Linked DNA regions of Homo sapiens: regions 2, 3, 4 and 5 are each linked to region 1. The links are contacts of gene promoters, found by promoter capture Hi-C in blood cells and fetal thymus (Javierre and others, 2016). All regions are on one chromosome and are shown on one strand. Each heading gives the region's core, a stretch centred on a gene start or on the middle of the fragment in contact. The rest is flanking DNA. Distances are from core to core; before and after follow the strand shown. Region 1 holds the start of PTPRG (protein tyrosine phosphatase receptor type G). Region 2 overlaps FHIT (fragile histidine triad diadenosine triphosphatase). Region 3 overlaps FHIT (fragile histidine triad diadenosine triphosphatase). Region 4 overlaps FHIT (fragile histidine triad diadenosine triphosphatase). Region 5 overlaps FHIT (fragile histidine triad diadenosine triphosphatase).

Region 1 (5,299 bases), core at 1,295-3,794:
CCCATGGCCTACACTACCGTAGAGGCCGTAGAGGCAGGACTCCAGTGGGCAAACCCCAGGCCCCAGTGTCCTACCGTAGAGGCAGGACTCCAGTGGGCAAACCCCAGGGTGAGTGTGGACGCACGTCCTAGCTCGGCCTCCGAGCTGCGTTTCTGGGCTGGAGCTCCGTGCCGCTCCGCGGGCAGGAGGATGCGCAGAGAGAAAAGGGGGTGCAGAATACCAGACGGTGTTTTCCCTTTCTGCCCCTCGAGGCCATCCCCGATTCTGCAAAGGGGGCATTCGCTGCCAGTCCCCCGAGGGGATCCCCAAGGGCGACGAGGGCTCCCGCGCGCCCTGCTCCGGGTCGCACGACGGGACTAAGGGACCCGCTGCACCAAAAACGGGCGCTCCAGCCGCCCGAGGACAGGCGTCTGTAACCAGGCAGAGCGGAGACCTCGGGGCACATTCCTCTTTTTCTTGATTCAGATAACCTCCACCTCCGGGTATGCAGGAGTTGATGGATGAGAGGGCAGAAAAACGGGGAATTCTCTGTCCTTAGGGGAGCGAGGGATGAAAAGCAAATCACCCCTTCTTCCAGCCCTTCCCCGGGCTAGGGCAGGACTTGGCCTCCACCCCAAGGGACAGCTACGAGGGAGCTCGGGGCTGCTGCCCGGGGGACCTGCAAGAGAGGAGAGGGAGGCAGCTGGCCTCTGCCCTCCCCAGGGGAGAGAGGAGGGGGAACTGCCAGCTGAGAGCTGGAAGTGGAGGGTCGCCGAGCCGCACACCGTTACGTGCGGTGATTTATTCTTATCAACGGCCAGTATTGTTCCTGTCTTAACCTGGCCAGAAAGGAGCGAGACTGGGTCTGCCAGCCGCGAACAGCCTGCAAAAGGGCAAAGATGAAGGTAGGCAGGGCGCGCGAGACAGGAAAAAAATCAGCCCCGGCGCGAACAGCAACCCGGCCGCCGAAACCGCCCCGGCCGCCGAAACCGCCCCCGCCCCCTCCCCGCGTCCAGACCCAGGCAATCCAATCGAGCAGAGCAGCGGAGGGAAAGGGCCACGGGCCGGGGCTAGGGGAGACACGGATCTCTCCGAAACCGCCTGCGCCCTGCCGTCTCACTGCGCCCAAGGAGGCTGCCTCACGCCGGCACCGAAGTGCTGCCCGCGCCCCAGCCCCCAGAGAGAGGGAGGACGCCCCCGACCCAGAACGCAGGCTGCTCCCCACACATCCTCAGTCCTCCGCAGCCAGCCTCCGACTTCCATTCCCCGAAACCTAGCCCTCCCAAAGGGATGGAGAACAGCAAAGCAAACCCCCACCTTCTGAGTTCCTTCAATACCCGCCAGAGCGAGGGGGCTCATCCCGGGCCCCCCAAACCCACAGAAGCATCCTTTCCATGGCCTCAGTCTCCCCAACCGCCCCACAACTCGAGTTCTCCCGATCGGCGACGAGTCAGCAAAGCAAGTCCCCCTTTCTCCCGATTCCAGCTCCCCAGGACCCCCAAAAGGGAGCGGGAGCAGACCCCCGCGTCCCCCAGCCCCCTCCCCGGCCAGCCCCTGCCTCCACCTTCCTCGACCACTAGCCTGCCTCCCTAAACATCATCCAAGCCAGCGGAGCAATCCTTTTCTCCTATCCGGGCGCCGGGCCACCCTCCACCCTCTCCAGGGTCTCCCGGACGGGCGCCGGAGCTCCGCGCCCAGGCGACAACTCCGCATCCCCAACGCGCGCCGGCCGGGGCCGCATCCCCTCGGCGGCCGGCACTCACCGGGGAAGCACACGACATAATGGAGCACGGAACTGGTGATTTTCAGGAACAAAATCCACCAACACGGTTCCAGTAACCTCCGCATGTCCGAAAACGCACATCGAAAAGAGGAAAGCAGGGAGGTAAACTTGTTGAATAAGTTCTTGCCTCCGTGCGAGCCTCCGCTAAGCCGGGGCGCTTCCCCGGCTCGCCCGCTCCACGGGCCCCCCGCGCTCGGCGGCCCGAGTCCCCTTGGAATCCGGGAAGCCGCCGAGCGCCCCCCGGAAAATCTCAAAAAGTGACCGGGAACGCAGAGCCACGCTGGGGACGATCCTCTCGGCGGAGAAAGGCTGCTTTCCGTTTAAAAAGGAGAGAGCCGATCGGGCAGGGCGCGGAGTCGGCGGCCGGCGGCGATGCCCCGGGCCTGGGGCAGGCAGGGACCGCGGGCGGCGGCGGCGAGCAGCCGAGGATCCCCAACTTGAGTCGGCAGCGCAGCACAGCCCGAGAGCCGGCGGGCGGCGGCGGGGCTGAGCGCGGCGCGGCGTCTCCGGGCTTCAGGCAGGCAGCTCCTTCCAGGGCCCCGGGAAGGAAGGAGGCATGTTTGCGAGAGGGGAAGGGGAGGGGAGAGGCAGGGGGAGCGGAGAGCCCCCCAAAATAGAAACGGCCGGAGGAAACGGAGGAAAACACAAAGGATCTCAGAGGGGCGCTGGGGCGAGGGCGCCTTCAGTCCATGCTCCTGAAAGTTGTGGCTCCGGCGCAGGCTGGGAAGGAACGAAGAGCGCGGGGCTGGAAACTGGCCATGCCTCCATACAGGAAGTAACATGTGAGCATGGATCCTGGCAGAGACTTTAAAGCCGGCGAGCGAAGGAGCGAGCGAACAGGGGGCGCGCGGTGGCGGCGGGGGCGCGCAGCCCGGGCCAGCTGGCGGCGGGCGCGCGCTCTCCGCGTTCTTAAAGCAGCCGCGCTTGGCTCCCGCCTTGCGCTGGGTCCCTCGGCTCTGCTCTCTCCGCGCGGCCTCTACTGGGACAGTTTGGGGACTGGGGGCGATTGTAGCCCGTGCGCGGAGAGAGGAGGGAGGCTGCCTTCTGGGGCCGGCTTGTTTTTTGCTGGATTCCCGTTGTTCGAGCTCTTAAAAGACGCCGCACGGTGCTCGGGTTTGGCGAGATCCTCCGCGCAGCTCGCGGATCCCGGACTTGAGGGGCCCCTCGCCCTGGCGAGGGGAAAGGGGGAGGGCGGACAGCTGCCTTTTTAAAGCGATGGGGTTTTCTGTTCGGCTTCACTGCCCTGGCATTTGCAGCGGTGAGGCTCACCGTCTGCGGCTCCTGTTCGCGCCTCCAACACAGCGCATTCCCCCGCCGGGAAACAAAGCCGAGCGGCCTTTGCACTCCGGCTACATTGAGATTTAATTTTTTTTTTTTTTCTTTTTCGGGCTTTCATTGGCCCAGTCCAAGGCTGGGGAAAGTGGGGGAGGGGAGGAATGTCGATCCCAGGATTGCGAAATCTAGCCCTTCCGAGCCCCGCATCCCCTTTCCCGGCGCCACGATGGATCGGTGGCGGAGTTTCCCCAACTCGCAGCTTCTCTGGAGAAGGTTCCCGCACCCCGGTTTGGCCGCGGGGAGGGCGCAGGAAGTGCGCCTCTTACACCCTGCAGGGTGAAAGCAGCGCCGCGGGGCCGGACTGATTTCCTGGCAGCTACCCGGGGAGCGGCTGCTTCTTTAGCAATCGGGGAGAGGCGTCCGGGGGAAATGGGAGGACTAGGCTTATCTGTAATGAGTTTTGTCCCTTGGCTCTCGGTAAGAAGATCTTTATCGCTTAGACTTCTAAGCGCCCTATTTTACATTCTTAACGCTGGGGCTAAAAGTGGGGGAGGCGGGCTTTCGAGTAAATGTGTAACTGAGCCAAGGTAATTAGCCGTTTGACATTTTTTGCCTAATTTTTCTGCCTGTGTTTCAAAGCGATCTTGACGTGGGATTGTTTTGTTTTGTTTTGAGACGGAGTCTCGCTCCGTCGCCCAGGCTGGAGTACAGTGGCTCGATTTCGGCTCACTACAACCTTCGCCTCCCGGGTTCGGGCGATTCTCCTGCCTCAGCCTCCCGAGTAGCTGGGACTACAGGCGCCCGCCACCACGCCCGGCTGATTATTTTTTTGGTGGTTTTTTTTGTTTGTTTTTTGTTTTATTTTGGTTTTTTTTGTAGAGGCGGGGTTTCACCGTTTTGGCAAGGCTGGTCTCGAACTCCTGACCTTGTGATCCGCCTGCCTCAGCCTCCCAAAGTGCTGAGATTACAGGCGTGAGCCACCGCGCATGGTTCTTGTGTTTTAAACGTGTCCCTGCTGTTTCATCCCAACACGGCAGGGTCCTCCACCCACCCAAACATCCCAACCGGATGCTAGGTTTTCAAATAAAGTACAGATGGTCGGAGATCCTCCCGTTCGATGTGATTAAGGAAGCATTTTCACACCCACACTTCCAAAAGAAAAACCTTTGAAAAGTTACGTATGGGATTACAAACTAATAAAAGCCAGGAAGTTCCTGGGGAGGGCCCTAGCTCTATCTTTAGCAGAACGGGGGTGAACACCCTCCCCCAGGGTGGGGAATGAGGCGAGTTTGTTTGCTTTGGAATGTGGTCCTTCCTGGTTTTATTGGAATCCTGACTTCTTTATAAAGGATTGCGAGGGCCATTTTTCTTGGAAGTGTTGTAATGAGGGATATTCGTTCCTCAAGTTAGATTACCCCAGCATCCCTGACTACCTTCTTAATGTCGAGTGATAAAATAGGAAAAACTCGTCAAATACTTGTGTCAGCGTCCTCAGGTGAGGTTTCCTCCTCTGTGAAATGGACAGTAAAAGCTGTCCTTTGTGGAATGCTTACTGTCTACCAGGCATTGTGCTGAATTCATGCCATAAACTGCTTGCTCATTCAACAAATGTATTGAGCACCTACTGTTTGAGGGACACACTGGGAACACAGCCTCGAACAAAAAGGGCAAGCCCCCATGCCTTATGGGAGCATACCTTCCTAAGTCCATGCTCCGTTCTCTCATGGAGTTCTTAAAATACTGCCAGCTGTGAGAATTATTTTCCCCATTTAATAGACAAGGAAACATGCTCAGAAGAGTACAATGATGGATCCTCAGCTAGTGGGCAGCAGAGCTGAGATTCTCAACCCAGGCCTGTTTGCCTCCACAGCTGTGATTCAAGGCAACAGAATAATGGCTTGAGAAGGCACCAAAATGTGGAATGTAAAAAAAGAGCTTCAGAGTCGGGGAAAACCTCATATGGGTTTGCAGAGTGAATTACCACTACCTTAGTAGTGTAGGAGGCCCCATGCTAAAACTTCACATCCAATTCGGTATGGACTGGTGACTGTCCTAGGACCCCAGGCTGAAGGTTACCCCCAAACTACCCTTGGAAGCACAATCCAGGCCCCACCAGTTCCTACAAAAGATAAAATTTTGCAAACATACATCACAGATGCCTTTTCATTTATTCTGCAACCAATTACAGAGCGATTCATATATAATAGACACTTTCAAGTGCTAGTCACACAATAATGACCTAGCAGTAGCCCTGCCATGCTC
Region 2 (4,812 bases), core at 610-3,109, 1.2 Mb after region 1:
GTGAGAAGATGTTGTGAATTTGGCTTTGGCCATATTGATTTTGAATTAAAGAACAGGTTTATTATGACTTGGTGAAGGGAAGAGAAAAGAATTTGCATGCCTATTAAATATTGCTGCTATTTATTAGTTACCTATTTCATAGGATAGCTATTGTTGCCCTCATTTTGTGGGTGCTCAGAGTGAATCTCAGTGAAGTTATATGCCTTACCCAAGGTCACAGAAAGACAGAATTAAAACCCAGGGCTCTCAGAGTCAAAGACTTGCATTTTTCCATTCTACCATAACATTCTTCTAGGCTGAATGGATCACTTCACTATTTAGTATCTGAACTCTGTGCATTATTGGCCCCAGTGCCTTCTCTCATGTTTTCTCTTTCTTAGCATTATTTTCCTTTTTCCTTGAACCTCCTTAAGTTGCCTTTGTCTTTTATAGTGCCAGCAAATTTGTACCTTCTGGAGGCTTTTCAAGATTGTTTCAGAGTGAGACTCCATCTCAAAAAAAAAAATTTTCTTGCCCCACCCATACTCAGCCTTTGACTCTTTTAGTGTTTAATAGTTTGATTAATTGTTAAGTTGTGGTCATAAATATTAAGATTATGGAGTTTAATATAAGTCCTAAAAAGCTTAGTATTTGAATATAATAGAAATGGTAGATGCACCTAATGGGGAACTTTCAAACCTGCACATTTGTATTCTTTTTCCAAAGCAGGGATCTGTCCTTTCCTTACAGAATGAAAAAAAAAAAAAGAAAAAAAAAAAAAAAGTCTTGAATGTCCTAGTGTTCTAGTGTTTGCATAATTGCTTTTCATCCCTGCTCTCTGCTAATTGCTTTTAAGGATCTCTGCTACATCCTGCATTTCCCATCATTGTTGGATTTTATTGACTTCTCTTAGAAAGCCAGCCTGATATATAAAATTCTATTATCTTGGGACCTTTGCCTGTGATGCTGTTATGCTTTTAGGGAAGACAGTGGTTGGTTCCATGAAAATGGACCTGTCTGGAATACACTGGAATTTCATAATCTATCCAGAAAAAGATAAAGCCCAGATGATAAATACCAGAACCTTTTGCTCCTGTCTCTTTGGCGAAAACAAGTGGTGTTTGGCTTGCTCTGGTGAAGGGGTCATGGGCTGTCACAGAATTCGAAAAAGATATTTTGATATTCAGGCCGGGCACAGTGGCTCACGCCTGTAATCCCAGCACTTTGGGCGGCCAAGGCGGGTGGATCACGAGGTCAAGAGATTGAGACCATCCTGGCCAACATGGTGAAACCCTGTCTCTACTGAAAATACAAAAATTAGCTGGACATGGTGGCACACACCTGTAATCTCAGCTACTTGGGAGGCTGAGGCAGGAGAATCGCTTGAACCCAGGAGGCGGAGGTTGCATTGAGCCAAGATCACACCACTGTACTCCAGCTTGGCGATAGAGCGAGGCTCCATCTCAAAAAAAAAAAAAAAAAAAAAAGATATTTTCATATTCAAGTAATAATATATTTTGGAAATCTAATTTTCTCAGTTTTGTATCCAAATATCATGAAGTCAAGCCAGTCTACTCTGTTCTGTGATGTGGAAAATCTCTGCTGTGTAATTCTCAACCATGACTCTTGGGGAAGGTTTCTTTGTACTGTGGTATAATGCATGTGATTTGGCTCACACTTCTGGAATACCTGCTGTATTCTCAGTGCTGGGCAAGTGCTGATGGGATACCACATCTGACTTAATGAGCTTTTGTTTTATGTCCTGTTGCTTGAACAAGTAGACTACAAGCCCTCAACACCTCCTATAGACAAAGAAAAACAATCTACCATTTATTGAGCATTTACAACACACATTATTTAATATAAATCTTCCATCAATTCTATGAGTTAGTTACCATTATTACTCCATTTTATAGATGAAGACAGTCAGAAAGGAGAAGAATAATTTCCCCAAAGACCTACAACTAGTGAAGACCTGAGCCAGATTATAACCCAGTTCACCTGGCTCCAAAACCAAGACTTTTGATTGATGTGCCATAAATGCAGGGGCTGGCAGAGAAATGGATAAGCACTAGAAAGTATAGACCTACCATGTTGTATCTGTGTTATCAGCCCCTTCTTTACTTAGCAATGTTTATTAGCCTTTCACTATGCTCTTTCTGAAATAAAGCTGATTTTGTTTATGTCAGAACACTATGACCTTAGCTTTTTGACCTAGGCTCACAGTAATATTTGCTCAATGATCATAATTCATTGTGATTTACGTCTTAAGAATATAAGGAACACCTGAGATCTTTGTGCCAAATTCAGAAGGAATAGAGTGGTTTTGTTTTCTTCTTTGCTTTTTTCTTCCTCATCTTCCTTCATTCTGACTGTAGTCCATCCTTGGTTTCAATTCATGGCAAGTTCACAGAACCTAGCAATAGGTTAAGGAAAGGAAACTTCTCAGCCAAATACATCTCTAGTATCAAAATCTCCAAATAGTGGCTGGAAAGGATTGTTCTCTAAAATGAGTTCTGTCTTTAGAATATTTTAATCTATTTTATGTCACAAATATGTATTAAGTGCTTGTTATGTTGAGGGTGCTAGGTGCAGTGAAGAATACCAAGCTAAGTGAAGTGAACTTTGCCTTGAAGAATGATAAGGTGCATTGCCTTCTTTCTCAAAACTTATGTGGTTCTCCAGACAGCTGGAGGATATAATAAAACACAAATTGCTAAGGCCTATCTCCTGAGTTTTGATTCCAGAGGTTTGGGTTGGAGGTCTATAGTTCGAACTTCTAACATGTTCCCAGGTGATGCTGATGCTGCTGTACATAATACAATTATGAGAGTCTTTTATCTACTGGGAGAAGGTCAGTTCTCACCTCTGAGCCAGTATGATGGAGAAGGATGGAATGCTAAAACCATTCTTGAACAACAAGGTAGTCTTATGCAAAGACTATGATGGCCATGTGATTAAGCGTTGTGAAAATTACCAGTAGAACATAGATCAATGCTTTTAAAATATGCTTTGCAATATGTTAAATATGTGTATCAATATGAAAGTATATACTACAGAGAATAATATGCCTAAGTACAACATCCACAGAATATTTTCATGTTGGATTAAGCTTCCTGGCTTTGAGTTAGGGTTGATGTCAATTGATCCTTAAGTAGTGTGTAAAACTTTGTCAAGAAATCATCATTTAATGTGTTGGGACCCATTGAAAGTGATATTGGGCCGGGCGTGGTGGCTCATGCCTGTAATTCCAGCACTTTGGGAGGCTGAGGCAGGTGGATCACCTGAAGTTGGGAGTTTGAGACCAGTCTGACCAACATAGCGAAACCCTGTCTCTACTAAAAATACAAAAAATTAGCCAGGTGTGGTGATGGGTGCCTGTAATCCCAGCTACTCAAGAATGGGTGCCTGTAATCCCAGCTACTCAAGAGGCCGAGGCAGGAGAATCGCTTGAGCTTGAACCTGGAAGGCAGAGGTTGCAGTGAGCCAAGATTATGCCACTGCATACCAGCCTGCGCGACACAGAAAAACTCCATCTCAGAAACAAACAAACAAACAAAAAACAAGTGATCTCCAGTGTTTGCCTGGGGAAGACCTGATTATTTGAAACAATCCGGAGTTTCTTAATCACTTGAGAATGCCTACATAATATTTTAGACAGATCAAAACATATCATGGACCAGAAGATCTCAAGGAAAGAAACGTAATTTGAACTAGAACCTGACTGTATTGTATGGCTCTCCTCAACAATGTGGTTTTTCACCTTATTGTTTTAAGAGCTTCATTGGTTGAATTTGTGCTGATTTCACTAGTTGTTTGGTATTGATCTATGACATGTAAAGCACCTGGCCCAGTTCTAGCCACACATTTGGCATCAAATAGATGTTCTCTGCCTGAAAGATGTGAGCAGAAGACCTAAGAGAAGTATTTGAGGTAGAATTATTATTCCAAGTTTCTGATTCATACAATTTACTCTTTCTTCCGTTTTTTTTTTTTTTTTTTTTTTTTTTTGTCTCTGTCTTCCTGCTATATAATAGCCCATTTTGTTTAATTTTCCGTAGGAAAGAATAGAAGATTTTTGTCAGTCTCAAATCAAGTATCTGGTATTCGGTTTTCTTTTGGTAGCTTCTCCCGAAAGCCTGTTAAAGCTTCTCAATAACTTGTATTGAAATAGATGTTTTATATTTCACGGTGTTCTCATTAAGCTGATGGAGTACTTTCACTCACAGCTTAGAATGGAGTGGCAGGACAATTACCTACACTAGTCTTACATTTTACTGTGGTTATCATATAAGAAAAGAAATCCTTCAAATAATTTGTCCTTTTTGAAAAATTGGCTGTCCATTTTAAGTTCTCCTACATTGTCTGAAGAACATAAAAAATTATGCGATCATGCTCTTCCTCATTGTTGGTTTTGTTGTGCTCAGGAGCCTTGAACTTGGGCAAGTAAAAAAACCACAGTTGAACTCAATCTGTTCTACAATGGAGGATGTGCTTAGTATGGCATGGGAAACTGTTTCAGAAGGCTCTGCTCGGTTACTTTTGCAGCGTTGTTATAGGCTGATACAGCAAATCCCAAGACTTGGTAAATATCCTTCCTGAACAAACACAATTTTAAATACCACTCATAAATGTAACATAAAATTATTTCATGATTATGTATTTTAGTTTCTAATAATTGTCAAGTTCTTTCTCTGGTACAGTGTGAACTACAGTGTTCTTTCATGGCACAGTGCCAGTTATTATTTTTGGATCTCTGAACTCATTGATACAAGCCCTTTACAATTTCCCTTACGCTTCTTGAGTTTGGGTGTTGATTTGATAATGACCCAG
Region 3 (4,886 bases), core at 836-3,335, 1.2 Mb after region 1:
GCATGGTGGATCAGGCCTGTAATCCCAGCACTTTGGGAGGCTGAGGCGGGAGGATCACAAGGTCAAGAGATTGAGACCATCCTGGCCAATATGGTGAAACCCCGTCTCTACTAAAACAAAAATTAGCTGGGCGTGTTGGTGCGTGCCTGTAGTCCCAGCTATTCAGGAGGCTGAGGCATCGCCGAGATCGCACCACTGCACTCCGGCCTGGGACAGAGCAAAACTCCATTAAAAAAAAAAAAAAAAGCTTAATGGCTTTCTCTGTTGCATGTAAACAGAACTGTTTTCATATAAATGGCTCCTCCAAGGATGAACTCTATGCCTCTCCTGAACACAGCTTTCTTTAGGGGCTTATATTTCAGTCACCTGTGTATTTTTTCAACTTTCCTAGCATACTGTGAGTTTCATGATGAAAGATATTATTTTAGTAAAGTAAGAAAGGATAAACATTACATATGGAGAGAGAGATAAATGGATGGATGAACAAATCAGCCAAACAATGACAAACTAACTGTATTTCCCACTGAATTATAACCAGTGTTCTCTGGAATTCGTAGCTTTATACACACTGTCCACTTCTCTATGCCACCATTTCCAATGGGGGTATTAAAAATATCTATGTCGTGTATGGTATTATTTTAATAAATGTTTATTTCATTTTCAAAGATGGCAGAGAATAACATTATAGAGCATTTGTCCCTGGAAAAGGTAATACGTTTTAAAGGATTTTTTTAAAAATTAGCTACCAAAATCTAAAGATAAAATGTGTCATTTAAACCAGGAAAGGACAGCTTCTTTGTGTCAACTTTTTCATACATCCTGAGCTAAATTGTGAGTTTGTTTTGCATTGAAATTTTTCTTTTGCAGAGAAGTGTCATCATTTTCACAACCACAACAGATTTTAGAGCAAAATAGAAGACTCTTTTGCTGAAGGCAGCTGTGTTTTGAGAATGTGTGTGTGTATGTATGTTTGTGTTTATGAAAAATCTGTGGCAACCACATTTTACCACTGATTTTTATAATTTCTGGTGGCATTTTCTGGACTTTTCCAGAAAGTTCACACCTTGTAAACAGTATTCCAGTCTTCTAACATGAACCTTTGGTATTCACTTAACCAACTTATTAATATCTGATATTATATGTTTAAGATAATTAAAAGCTTTATTTAAATGGTAAGTCAGCAGCTCTTTGAATAGACACTATGTGTCAAGCATGGGGGCTTGTGGTGTCAAGCATGGGCTTTTGTGGGATCAAGACAGACCTAGTTACTCTACTTAAAATCTCAATAATTTAGTGGGAAAGATGGACATTAAACAAATAATTTTAAACACTATGTAACTGCAAATATGCCAAGTCCTACAAGGGGACACACAGAATATGAATGAAATAGAAGAACAGGAGCTGTCTTCTTCTGCTTCTGCATGGAAACCACTAACCACGTGTAGCTATTTAAATTTAATTTAAATTTGAATTAATTAAAAAGGAATAAAATTAAATGTTCACTTCCTCAGGCACACTACCATATTTCAGGTGCTCAGTGGTCACATGTGGCTCATGACTACCATATTGGGCAACACACATCTGGAACATTTTTATCGTTGTAGAGAGCTCTGTTTGACAGCATTGCATCTATAGGATCTGGGAAGGTCTTTCTACAGAACAGTTGATTAAGCCTAGATATGATATCTGAGCAGGCACTGACCCAGTGAAAATTTGTGATTGAGGGGAGAATAGTCCAGGCAGAAGACAGCTCCAGAATATGAAAGTAACTACAACTAACCAGTTGTCTTCACAGAATGGTATTGCTACTCCTCTATGTATGTGTACTTTAAAATGGTATAGTAGTATTTATACTTTCAATATATATTTTTTGAGACAGAGTCTCACTCACCGTGTCACCCAGGCTGGAGTGCAGTGGCGTGATCTCTGCTCACTGCAACCTCTGCCTCTTGGGTTCAAGAGATTCTTGTGCCTCAGCCTCCTGAATAGCTGGGGTTACTGGTGTACACCACCACATCTGGCTAATTTTTTTTTTTTTTTTTAAAGTAGAGATGGGGTTTTTCCTTGTTGCCCAGGGTAGTCTCGAACTCCTGAACTCAGGTGATCCTCCCACCTCAGCCTTCCAAAGTGCTAGGATTACAGGTGTGAGCCACCACACCCAGGCTATACTTTCAATATTGATGTAATGATACAAAACCAAGTTCTACTGGGTTTCTACTTAAGGATGTTACATTAAGATGTTCCTATACAGAATCATGAATCTGGCACTCACAATTATTGAAAAGCATTTAAAAATTGCTACCGTGAAAGTGTTTTTTTTGTTTTTTGTTTTTGTTTTTTTTTTTTCAAAAGGAGCAAAAGGAATGATTCTTGAAGAGCATAAAGTATTTTACCATTTTTCTCTCCCTCTTCTCATTATCATACACCACTGCTACCCTTAGAGTCTCTCCTTTCAGGCTCCAAATATTGCAGAAACCTTCCCTGACTCAACTCTTTATCATGTGCATTAACTTGGCCTGTTTCTTATTCTTAATTTATTTTGTAATATCCTGTTAACTGACTGTAGAGCAGCAAAGAAAACTGCAAGGGCTGGTTCAGTGATTAGCAGTCTCTTCTACTTAATAGACTTTTTAAAAAACACACAGCCACACAACTATTATCACGTCTCAACGTTGAGAAAATATTCTAAATGTTGGTGGAAAAATTGAGTATGCAATTTGATCTTGACTTCGGGCTGCACAGGTTTTAAAATCAAATTATTACTTGAATATGCATATTCTCTAGCTCCACGCTTGAAGTCCTTCTACATAAATGTCAATGCTTTGCCTAAGAGGCCGTGTTGTAGGTAATCTAGTATGTGTGTGTGCTTCTTTCTTCATTTTCTTAGCATATAAAAAATCTGGGGTGGAAGATCCTACTAGTCATGCCTTTAGTCTCCAAAGTTTGTTGTTATAATTCACATTAACGTGTTTTTTTTCCAAGTGATATGCTTCCCTAAATGTAAAGCTTTTAGTCCTGTTTAATGATGCAGAGTAGAATTGAGTAAAAACTTACAGAATTGCATTAGCAGCGGAGGAAATTAATTCTGGATCACCCTAAGTCATCAAATATTGTTTAAAAAAATAGAGACTTCTTACTTTAGGTTGCAAAAAGTAACTAAAACTAGACTATTTTGCCTGGCACACATTCTCAGTGGGTCTTTTAAAATGATCAGGAAAGAATTGTTTATAATTAAACTATTAATTCTCCTTTAGTTAGGTTCCTAAAAGACTTGAGATTGATAGAAATATTTCTTGGCTTAATTCTTCTGTTTTAAGCATCTGACAAGGTCAAATGTCATATATGTGTTATATGTAAGAAAAATAATTCAGAGAAATGAGGATATTCCAGTGTCATGTAAATTTCAAGAGGAACCAAAACCATTACTTTTTTAAAAAGATACATGTAGTAATTGCAATAACCAGATTCACCACATACTAGAGATTCCGCCTTCTGTGTAGCTTGTTTTAATTGACTTTTCTCTACTTCCTGAACCACCAGAACCAAGTGCCTAGGCTAAAACCTCCTTATTGGCTTTTCTGCTACCAGTCTTTCTGCCTTTAATCTTTTCTTCCATGGCTACTAGAGCTGTTTGAACCAGAAGTTTGAAATAGGAATAGGAGCGATTTAAGAATGGCATTCTGGTTAGATAGACGTTGTAAGCCGAGGGGCTTCTAATGAAGTTGCACCTTGCATTCCTCAATTGTATGTTTTTTAGGGGTGCTTTTGCCAGTAGTGACTGGACATTTTGGGGACAATTGCTGGTCTCCCTACTACCACCAAGATGAGTCTGCTTTCTCCACTGAGCTAGGGAGACGGCTTATACACTCAACCTGATCATGTCCATTTCCTGCTTTAAAAACCTTTCTTGGCTTCCCATTGTTTTTAACAGAAAGTTCTGATGTCCTAAGATGGCCTCTGAGCTCCTATGATGGTGGCTCTGCTTATTCTCTGCCTAGTCTCACACTATCGTGCCTTGCTCTCTGTACTGCAACCACACTGACCTGCTCTCATCTCAAATGTGGCAACCTTCGCATTTGATGCTGTTTCATTTATCTAGAACTTTACCAAGCCATTTTCAAATTCTTTATATCTTAGCTTCAACGTCACTTTCTCAGGTCATCCTTCTCTGACCCTATCCTTACCCAGCCTCCCCACCCAAGGACTGGGCTGTATCAGCCCTATCATCTCTCCCATGACATTTATCACAATTACAATCAGATCATGGCACACACAAATACAGAATTAATGTGTGCCTTCTCTGCTAAACTAGAGGCTGTTGAAGGCAAGGTAGGGTCTCAGTGTTAACATCAGTATGTCCATCACCCAATATTGTCTGGCACATAAAAACATTTAATATTTGTTGAATAAATAAATAAATTTCATATGATTTTAATCCAATTATTTTGACATTTTTATTTGGTAGGCTCTAGAACAGAAATGAGTCCTTCATTTGATTATGAACACACCACCAGTGGATTAAATTCATCTCTATTAACTTAAATCTTTGTAACCAGCCTAAGTCATTTGATTTCCACTCTGAATATACTGAACTCAATATCAAAAGAAACTTTAATTTCAGAGGAAGTACACTGATCATATCAGCCTCCAAATACATTTTAAAAAAAAAGTCTGTGAGAAAGTAGGAGCCATAGATAAGGAAGAAATAAAAGACATCCTAAAGCAAATTGAGAATGGAAGATAAAGGAGGCAGCTTTTTAAAAAGAGGTTAATGCATACTGAAGTAGATGTCACTAATTTTATATATTTTTGCCATCAGGAAGTAAAGAGCTTTCGATTGTTTGTTCATTGAAGTAGATCGGCCCGAACTTGTACTCATGACTCTT
Region 4 (4,890 bases), core at 1,829-4,328, 1.1 Mb after region 1:
GAGGACCCAGAAATAAATCCATACATCTACAGCAAACTCATTTTCAACAAAGTTGCCAAGAATATGCATTGAGGAAAACACAATCTCTTCAGTAAGTGGTGCTGGGAAAACTGAATATCTATATGCAGAAGAATAAAACTAGACCCCTATCTCTTGCCATATACAAAAATCAAATCAAAATGGATTAAAGACTTAAATATAAGACCTCAAACTATGAAACTTCTACAAGAAGACACTGGGGGAACTCTCCAGGACATTGGTCTTGGCAAAGATTTCTTGAGTAATACCCTACAAACACAGTTAACCAAAGCAAAAATGGACAAATGGGATAGCTTAAGTTAAAAAGCTTCTGCATAGCAAAGTAAACAAATTTGAAGAGCAAATTTGAAAGCAATTTGAAGAGACAACTCACAGAATGGGAGAAAATATTTGCAAACTATTCATCTGACAAGGGGTTAATAACCAAAATATATAAGGAGCTCAAACAATTCCATAGGAAAAAAAATCTAATAATCTGATTAAAAAATGAGCAGAGATCTGGATAGACATTTCTCAAAAGAAACATACAAATGGCAAATATATGAAAAGGTTCTCAACATAACTGATCATCAGAGAAATGCAAATCAAAACTACAGTAATATCCCAGTTAAAATGGCTTATTGAAGAGGACACAAAATAATGAAAAGATATGCAAAAGACAGGCAATAACAAGTGCTGGAGAGGACGTTGAGAAAAGTGAACTCTCATACATTGTTGGTGGGAATGTAAATTAGTACAACCACTGTGGAGGACAGTTTGGAGGTTACTCAAAAGACTAAAGAGCTACCATATGATCCAGCAAACTCGCTGCTAGGTATATACCCAAAAGAAAGGAAATCAGTGTATTGAAGAGCTATCTGTACCCCCGTGTTTATTGCAGCATTGTTCACACTAGCCAAGATTTGGAAGCAACCTAAGTGTCCCTAACAGAGGAATGGATAAAGAAAATATGATACATATACACAATGGAGTACTATTCAGCTATAAAAAAGAATGATATCTTGTCATTTGCAACAACCTGGATGGAACTGGAGGTCATTGTGTTAAGTGAAATAAGCCAGGCACAGAAAGACAAACATCACATGTTCTCACTTCTTTGTGAGAACTAAAAATTTAAAACAACTGAGCTCACGGAAAGAGAGAGTAGAAGGATTGTTACCAGAAGCTGGGAAGGGTAGTTGGGGAGGGGGAGATGGTTAATGCATACACAGATGTTGTTACATATGATGTATAAGATCTAGTATTTGATAGCATAACAGGGTGACTACAGTCAACAGTAATTTGTTGTACATTTTAAAATAGCTTAAAAATATGATAGGATTGTTTGTAACACAAAGGATAAATGCTTGAGATGATGTATATCCCATTTACCCTACGTGATTATTATGTATTGTATTCCTGCATCAAAATATCCCTTGTACCCCATAAATGTACCTACAACATATCTTATATGTACCCACAACAATTTTTTAAAAAAATGAATGCAGGGGAACCTAGAAATACCTAGTTCTTTTCCTTGAGTCAAGCCTTTTGAGCAAGAGACAAGATCTTTTAGTGAACTCAGTTCTGCCATAGTGTTGCTATGGTGGTTTTACTTGTTTACTTCTGTTTTTTCACAGGATTTCAAGGCATATTAGGATGTTATGATGATGATTCCAAACTGTGCAAATAAAGGGCAAATTACATGTTCTTCCACAAAAGGAGCTTCTGTTATCCCTCTTTGCCACACACTTGCTAGAATGGCCAAAGTAGTTGTTATTTTCTTAAAGTTAAACTGATTCGTGGATAATAATTAACAGCTGCTATCATTAACCTTTATTGTGTCAGGCCCTGTGCCAATTATTTAATCTTACCACAACAGGGTAAGGTACATATTGTGATTGTCTCCATTTTACATAAGTTAACACTGATGCCCAGAGAAGTTAAGTAAATTGCCCAAAGCCAGAGTTTCAACTGGTCTAAGTTTTTTTGATTGGAAACCATGTCTATTTTCTGGGCAACTTCTCTGGGCATGCTATAACCTCCCACATGGACAGCTTGGCAAGTTCATGCCTTATTACAGTTTGAAATGTTACACGTCCCCTTCCTTTCCCCAGTAAATGATGGGTTTCCTAGACGTTTTATTTCTCTGTTCTGAGAAGGAGAAATGGAAGGAGGAGAAAGGATGGCGGGGGAGAGGAGTAATGTGTATATTTAGTCACTATCAATGACATTTTAGGGCCAATAGGGCCAACTGAAACAGAGTTCTGCCCACAGTTAGTGTTTCATTGGTTAGCCTTATGTGATTAAATCCTTCTAAATGCAATTAAATCCTTATCAACCAAAAGAAGAAAAATTATGTTCTCTTTAGGGAAATAAGTATAGATATATCATTTTCCTTAGATTTGTGAACTATTTCTTCAGAAAACCAAAGCTGATTCCCAAGAGACAAGAAAAACAGGATTTTTTTTTCCTTCTCAACATTTACATGAAATAACACCTAAGTACTTTAAAGTGTGAACACATGTCCCATGGTACTCAATGATGTGATATATCTGTTGCCTTCTGCCACCTACAAATGAAGAAAAGATTTTGAAGAGAGTAACATCATTTTTAAACTTTCTTATTTGTGAAGTTCCCTTGCCATGCTAAAGCCTGAGGAGCCAATGCATTGCCTCCAGGTGGTGAATGTTGGGTAGAAATTAGCTGGAGCAGCTGCTCCCTCAGTGTGGCACAGCACAGAGGTGGTCAGTGCACATCAGGCTGTGACAATATGACCAGGAATACATGGAGTGATACAGAGCAGGGTTGGTTTTGTGTCGGCCTGCCTATTGGGAGGACTGTGCCATGACTGTGTAGATACAGCCAGAAAAGTCTTTTGGACTCACAAGTATTAGCCCAGTGATCTCCCTGCAGCATGCCCTCAGTGGCTCCCCAGCTGTCTTAGCCCGGTCCAGCATGGTTGGCACCTTCCTGTCTTTCCTTGTCCGCCTGGGGCCATAACCTCCTGTTTGCCACCCTCCTATGTTCTCTGTCCTGATGGGCTGAATTCTAGTCCTCCTGCTCTCCAAGCCCTTTATCCTGGCGGATCTCTTGCTTTTGCTCCTACCTCGATGCTCTTCCCTCCTCTCTTCACTACCCTGCTTTCCGCTCTCAGCTCCTGCATTAATTCCTCAGTGGTGTTCTCCCTGCCTTGGTCAGATCCTCTAATTATACATTCTTTTCACACCCCATGCCTTTCTGTCGAGGACTTGCCCTAGGTGCATTTGACATTTGGGTTCTTACAGTGTTTGGGAGAGGAGGTAGGGTTGAGTGGTTGAGCCATGGGCACTCAAGCCATACCGTTGGCTTCAAACCAAACTTGGCCACTTAGCAACCTTGCCAACTCTGTGCCTCAGTGGCTCCTCTGTAAAAGGGGAGTGATCACTGTACCTCATTCTTAAAGGTGTGGTGGAGAGTAAATGAGTTGATATTAGAACGGCAGCTGATGTCTAGAATGGGCTTACTGCATGGTAGCTCTCTTTAATATTTGATGTAATGATCATCCTTCCATTAGATTGTGAACTCCAGGCAGACAAGGGCTATAACTGTTTTTGTTGCATAACATCCCCCCGGTCCTGCTGAAATGCCTCACTCACTGTGGGGCACCCATTCAGTGTTAGTTTTTACTGTGTACCAGCACTGAGTCAGGCGAACTGAAGACTTCAACCTCGGTTTCAACCGGTAGTCTGTCATAGGATTTACAGATTCATGTAACGCTCTTGACAGGGATGGTTATAGTTTTTACCTGGCTTAAAGGGGGGCGGGGGTTCCCTTTTTTTAAAATCAATTTCAATCTTATTTGGAAGCTCAGTGTATCAAACACATTCAAAATAGAGGTGCTTTGCTTAGGAAAGAGCATGGCTTGTTTGGGATCCCCCATCCTTATCCTGCCTCTGACTGCCTCTGGAAACCTTTGCCCTAAATAATGATGGTCTGCTTTCTAAGGCTATTGGGTGAGAGACCAACTTGGAATGCTTAATAAGCAAGCATGGAAGTAACTTGCAGAAGAAAAAAGACTTCAGCCTTTTAATGTCAAAAATATCAAATAGGGAATAATTTCAAGTGGTGATGTCAGGGACAGCTGCGTTGTCTGTACAGCGTTGGAGAGAAGATCCTGCTTCGGCATAGCCTATGATTTTGAAGGCTACTCTATAGCTGCCACCTTTCATCTTAAAGAAAAAGGATTTTAATTATGACAATGAGAACAAGATGACATATTGTTTTATTAGTTGCTTAATTTTATTTAGCTGACTCACTTAGTATGGGAATGTCTCTAGGGGCTGCTGGAGAGTCTCTTTCTATAAAAGGAGAGAGATCCCAAGAGGCAGATTTGTTTAAGAGTGTTGCATAATGTGCTCTACGTCTTGGGTTTCTACCATTCTCAGGTTATGAACTGTAGAGCTGGATTTTTTTGGTAATTTTTCTAATCAAAAGGAAAATCAATAAGGCTCACTACTGAATAACATATTTAATAACTTGATAAAATAATCAGAGTTTTTGGCACTTACAGAATTAGATTAAATAAAGATTTTATTTTTCAGTGTGAAGAAAAAATTTTTATTAGTTACCATAGTGAAATGGGAAGAGTATTTTTTTGCCGTTAACGTTAAGGGAGTTTTCTTAAAGAAAGTGTTCTGTGCCAGGGTTGTTACATATGGTATTCTCTTTTGTTATTTTTTAAACTTAACCTTAAAATATATTTCCTTTAAATAGATTCCTAAGTTTGGGACTGATGACTAAGGTTCCCTTAAATTTGTACGTACTTAAGTTGATTCACTACTTCCAACATGAATTATATTCTGAACAAGGAAAGAAAAAATATTTAGCTGT
Region 5 (4,631 bases), core at 1,229-3,728, 1.3 Mb after region 1:
CTTTAGGTAATCTGATCTTATGATTCTTTGTGTTTACATGTTTCTCCAAATTTGGGGATACTAGTTTGCTTTGGACCTCAGTTCTCTGCTGAATCTAAAAAAGTCATTAATTTCCAGTTGGTTCATCTTTTTTCCTTGTCGTAAATATTTTTCTTGTTGCAAATTGCAGTGAAGCAGTGTCATTGGCTGGGATAATATCCGAGATTTGTCATCTCATGCCGGGAAAATTAAGGACAGGGACACACACACACAAGGAGTGAGTTTGGGAGCTGAGGATTAATAGGCAAAAGAAAGAGAAAGGAGAACAGCTTTCTCTCTTGAGAGAGAAAAGGGTGCCTGAATGAGACTTCCAGCCTGTGGCAGAGTGCATTGGAGTTTATAGGCAGGCTTGAGGAGGCGGTGTCTGATTTACATAGGGCCCAAAGATTGGTTGGACGAGGTGTGATGTTTACATAACATGCGAGGAAGCTGGATGCCCTACCCTGATCTTAAGCAAATGGCGACTTCTCCCAGCTGGCGCCATGTTGCCTGCTCGTTACTCTACATGTGGCTGGCAAAGAAAAGGGAAGATGGAGCTGCCATTTTGAGCATGCTTAGTACCAGGTAGCTTTTTCTTATTGGCACAACTGCTGGCATTCATCCATTGCAAGCTTCCAGCTTGCTTGTCTGGGTCTGCAGCTTGATTTTACAGGCTGCTCTTTGTTAGAAAAGAAAATGATTTGGCGGCTGCTTTTCATTCAAAGGAAAACCTTACGGAGGACTCCATACCCTCACTGTCTGCTAAATAATTCCTTTTTAACGCCTATATCTGCAGCTTCCAACTTCTTTATATGTCCCTCACAAAACATTTTTATGCAAATGGTTAAAAGAGAAAACCAGATCCAGAAATTAGGACCATTAATATGAAAATTGAAATTTTAAATGTTTTCACTGCTTTCTTGCTGACCACCAGGACTTCAGCAGGTAATTAAGATGTCAGCAAGATTTTTTTTAAGTAACTGAAAGTTCTAGCTGCTGTACTTATATACTTTGGATGCTTGTCCGCTCCAAATCTCATGTTGAAATGTAATCCCCATTGTTGGTTGAGTGGCCTGGTGGGAGGTGTTTGGGACATGAGGGTGGATTCCTCATGAATGGCTTGGTGTCATCCTTGCAGTAATGAGTGAGTTTGTTCTCAGTCTGTGAGTTCACATGAGATCTGGCTGTTTAAAAGAGGCTGGGACTTCCTCTACTCTCTCTCTTTCTCCCTCTCTTGCCCTGTGACATGCTGGCTCGCCTTTGTTTTCTGCCATGATTGTAAGCTCCCCAAGGCCCTCACCAGAGGCCAAACAGATGCTAGTGTTATGCTTCCTATACAGCCTACAGATCCATAGCCAAATAAACCTCTTTTCTTTAAAAATTACCCAGTCTCAGGTATTCCTTTAGAGTAATGCAAAGAGACTAATATATATGCCTTTTGCACCTTTGAAACAGAAGTTTAAAAAATATTTTTATGATTCACCTTGTTCGCTCGTGACACAAACACTATTGAGGCATCTCCATTGGCTGAGGCCAGTTCTCTCACCAGGTTTATATTTTATAGACTCTTGGGTTCTGAATGAGTACTCTGATATCTTTTGCACCTTCAGCCTCCTTTTTCTCAGCTTTGAGAAAAACGCTTGTGTGAATGCCTGGTCTTTTCACAAAATAAGCAGAGTATTTTAGACTTCATCTGCTGGACTTCCTCTGTCTCCAGAAGGAAACATTGTAGTATAAGAAATTACAAAAACAGGCCGGGTGCAGTGGCTCATGCCTGTAATCCCAGTACTTTAGGTGGCCGAGGCAGGCGGATCACGAGGTCAGGAGATCGAGGCCATCCTGGCTAACACAGTGAAACCCGGTCTCTACTAAATACACAAAAAATTAGCCAGCCTGGTGGCGGGTATCTATAGTCCCGGCTACTCAGGAGGCTGAGGCAGGAGAATGGCGTGAACCCAGGAGGCAGAGCTTGCAGTGAGCCGAGATCATGCCACTGCACTCCAGCCTGGGCGACTGAGCGAGACTCCATCTCAAAAAAAAAAAAAATTGCAAAAACAAATTCTCAAAACTACTGCTTAAACTTATCCTATTGGTCAGCTTGAAGGAGAGCAATAATTGCTGGATGTTCTTTAATTTGTAGAAACTGGCTTAATTTGTGCACACATAAAAAGAAGTCTAATTTCACAACTACAGATTGCAAGGCATTATTGTGTAGGATAGGACTGATGCCGAAAGACCACATGAGAAGATAGAATATCAGTTTAGTTTTAGTAACTGACTCTCCTTTATAAGAACTTTGACCCTCTGTAATACTATAGAACAAAATCTTCTTTCCTAAGTATGCATTTATTGATCACATATTATGTGCCAACCACTGTGCTGGTCACAGGTGTGTGTGTGTGTGTGTGTATGGCATTGACTAAGACAACATCTGTGAACTCAGGTTTCTGTGTAGTGGATATAAGATGAATGCCTACTGTCAAGTTTCCACAAGACTACCGGAAAAACCTGTTGATCAAGCAAAGCTATGATTTTAGATCTATAGGAAAAGAATATACAAGATTGAGAGAATCTGATTAGTTGCTCAAAATGGATAAATTAGGAGAGCACATTTATGGAGTTCTGGGCTTGTTCTGCATTACTTTAAGGCAGGTACTGCAAGTCAGAGAAATGATTGGAATTGGACAAGAGTTTAGACAAAGTAGTCTTGTGTTTGTGGCACAGAGAGGGTCTTGAAATAAGCCCTGGTGAGTAAGCTGATGACCTTGCTAAGTAAGTTAGTTGATTCATAGTTTTTTTTTTTTTTTCTTTTCTTCCAGAAATATTTCCCAGAGCAGGGAGCCAAGTTGTCAGTAATAATGAAAACAGTAATGAAAATATGCCTAGTTCCAAAATTTTCACAAAGGGACAAAAAATTTTTCTAGTTATCACAAATAAATGAACTTGAATCCTTAAAATATAGCCATAAGGAGTCTTTAAATAAAATGCAAAAATCTTTATTAAATGAATGAAAAGAAAGTTTCTCTTCCTTGAGACTATCATTTTTAAAAAACAGATAAATGTGGGGAAGTTTATTTTGTTATTCTAACATAATTCTGTTTGGGAATGAAAATTAAAATAGAATTTTTTTCCCTAAAGCAAAGTTATAGAACTTCCTATTGCAATTATCCATGCTAAATTTGCTGACATGAGTGTTTTCACTAAAGTCTTCAATACATAGGCTGTGCTGGGAAGGTCTGGGCCATACCTACTGTCTGGCTACTAAGGCCATGAATCTCTCTTAAAGATGTGTTTTGTAGTAGACCTGAACAGACTCATTTTAGTGGAGTCCAAGAGACTATATCTTCTGTTTTAATAGATTTGTTTTTTCTCAAATTTTTGAAAAAAGCTGTGCTACCACCTTGAATTTGGAACCACTTCTTGTTGTTGCTGTTATTGCTATGGGCATGTTTTTGTTATAGACAAGTTTTTGTTTCCATATCATTGTAAACATAGCTTATGACACATATTCTCAAATGTGCAAAGAAAAGTATAATGTTTGAGTTTATACATCCATGTAGTAAGTGTGGATCATTCATTCCATATATAAGATACATTTTTAGGTAAGCATTCAGGTAAAGGGTATTTTGTCATTTCGTTCTTCAAATATTTATTGAGTGACTGATATGTAAATGGTGATATATATATTAGGTGTTAAGGTGTTAGGGTTTTGGAGTTGGGGATTTAGTGGAAGAGAGTGGAACCAGTGCCTGCCCTCAAGGAGTTTATAATCTAGTGAGGTAGAGAAATGTTCAACCAAGAATGAGACACATAAGTTAGTATTAGAGCTCTGGTAAGTGGTGTGAAAGAGAGTTATCTGATATTATAAAATCGTGTAACCCTGTATAAGATGAACTTTCAAGCTGAACTGAGAGTAGAAGGCAGAGATGATAATGAGGCAGAGTGATTTAAGTAGAGAAAACAGATATGTAACATCCCTAAGGAGAAAGAACTAGAACTCAAAGGCTTATCATTACTGCCAAAATGTAATTTGTCATAGTTGTGTTCTTTCAATTGTCTTCGTTAAATATTAATTATTTTAATAAAAGTTATATAAGTGCATTTTAATATTTAATCTACACAAAGATGAGATACTTTTATTAATTTCTGTAAATGTTTCAGAACATTACTTTTTCTGTGATTTTAAATATTTGTGAAAACTCTTTCAATCTGTCCTTCAGGAAGACTCAGCTCTCATCTACATACTTGCCAATAGAAATAGTGTTTTCACGTTAAAGAAACAAGCTTAGAAGTTAGGAGGTACCATCATGTTAATTGCTGCCTTGTAATGGTTATTTATTGTCATTTTGTTTATTGACAGTGACTAGAATAGCAGTATGATCAGCATGATCATTATAAAAAATAATGAGGCTTTTTTCTTTTTTTTGAGACGACGGAGTCTTGCACTGTTGCTCTGGCTGGAATGCAGTGGTGTGATCTCAGCTCACTGCAGCCTCTGCCTCCCAAGTTCAAGCAATTCTCCCCCTCAGCCTCCTGAGTAGCTGGGAGGACAGGCACCCGCCACCACCCCTGGCTAATTTTTTTTGTATTTTTAGTAGAGACAGGATTTCACT

What was found. Contacts are between HindIII fragments. The CHiCAGO score rates a contact against its expected background, and 5 or more counts as called.
Region 2: a fragment that was not itself captured here is called in contact with the fragment with the promoter of PTPRG in region 1 in 1 of 17 cell types (neutrophils); the score reaches 5.3 in neutrophils.
Region 3: a fragment that was not itself captured here is called in contact with the fragment with the promoter of PTPRG in region 1 in 1 of 17 cell types (neutrophils); the score reaches 6.9 in neutrophils.
Region 4: a contact is called between a fragment that was not itself captured here and the fragment with the promoter of PTPRG in region 1, in 1 of 17 cell types (neutrophils). The highest score is 6.1, in neutrophils.
Region 5: a fragment that was not itself captured here is called in contact with the fragment with the promoter of PTPRG in region 1 in 1 of 17 cell types (neutrophils); the score reaches 6.6 in neutrophils.

Annotation. Positions count from the first base shown.
Region 1 is chr3:61,558,816-61,564,114 of GRCh38, reverse strand. It overlaps PTPRG (protein tyrosine phosphatase receptor type G), which reads right to left and starts at 2,544. Exons shown (of 30, transcript NM_002841.4): 1 at 1,743-2,544. The coding sequence starts at 1,827. RefSeq lists an enhancer at 3,767-4,442. The HindIII fragment of the contact is 7,216 bases long and covers 1-5,299 here.
Region 2 is chr3:60,355,932-60,360,743 of GRCh38, reverse strand. The region is part of intron 5 of FHIT (fragile histidine triad diadenosine triphosphatase); the gene reads left to right. LOC107986015 (a long non-coding RNA gene) reads left to right here and starts at 3,992. Exons shown (of 2, transcript XR_007095935.1): 1 at 3,992-4,812. The HindIII fragment of the contact is 2,469 bases long and covers 625-3,093 here.
Region 3 is chr3:60,372,565-60,377,450 of GRCh38, reverse strand. The region is part of intron 5 of FHIT (fragile histidine triad diadenosine triphosphatase); the gene reads left to right. Among named protein-coding and RNA genes, the nearest start is that of MIR548BB, 240 kb to the left of the region's middle. The HindIII fragment of the contact is 1,847 bases long and covers 1,162-3,008 here.
Region 4 is chr3:60,460,838-60,465,727 of GRCh38, reverse strand. The region is part of intron 5 of FHIT (fragile histidine triad diadenosine triphosphatase); the gene reads left to right. Among named protein-coding and RNA genes, the nearest start is that of MIR548BB, 150 kb to the left of the region's middle. The HindIII fragment of the contact is 5,459 bases long and covers 349-4,890 here.
Region 5 is chr3:60,273,425-60,278,055 of GRCh38, reverse strand. The region is part of intron 5 of FHIT (fragile histidine triad diadenosine triphosphatase); the gene reads left to right. It overlaps LOC107986015 (a long non-coding RNA gene), which reads left to right. Exons shown (of 2, transcript XR_007095935.1): 2 at 1-4,631. Among named protein-coding and RNA genes, the nearest start is that of MIR548BB, 340 kb to the left of the region's middle. The HindIII fragment of the contact is 3,652 bases long and covers 653-4,304 here.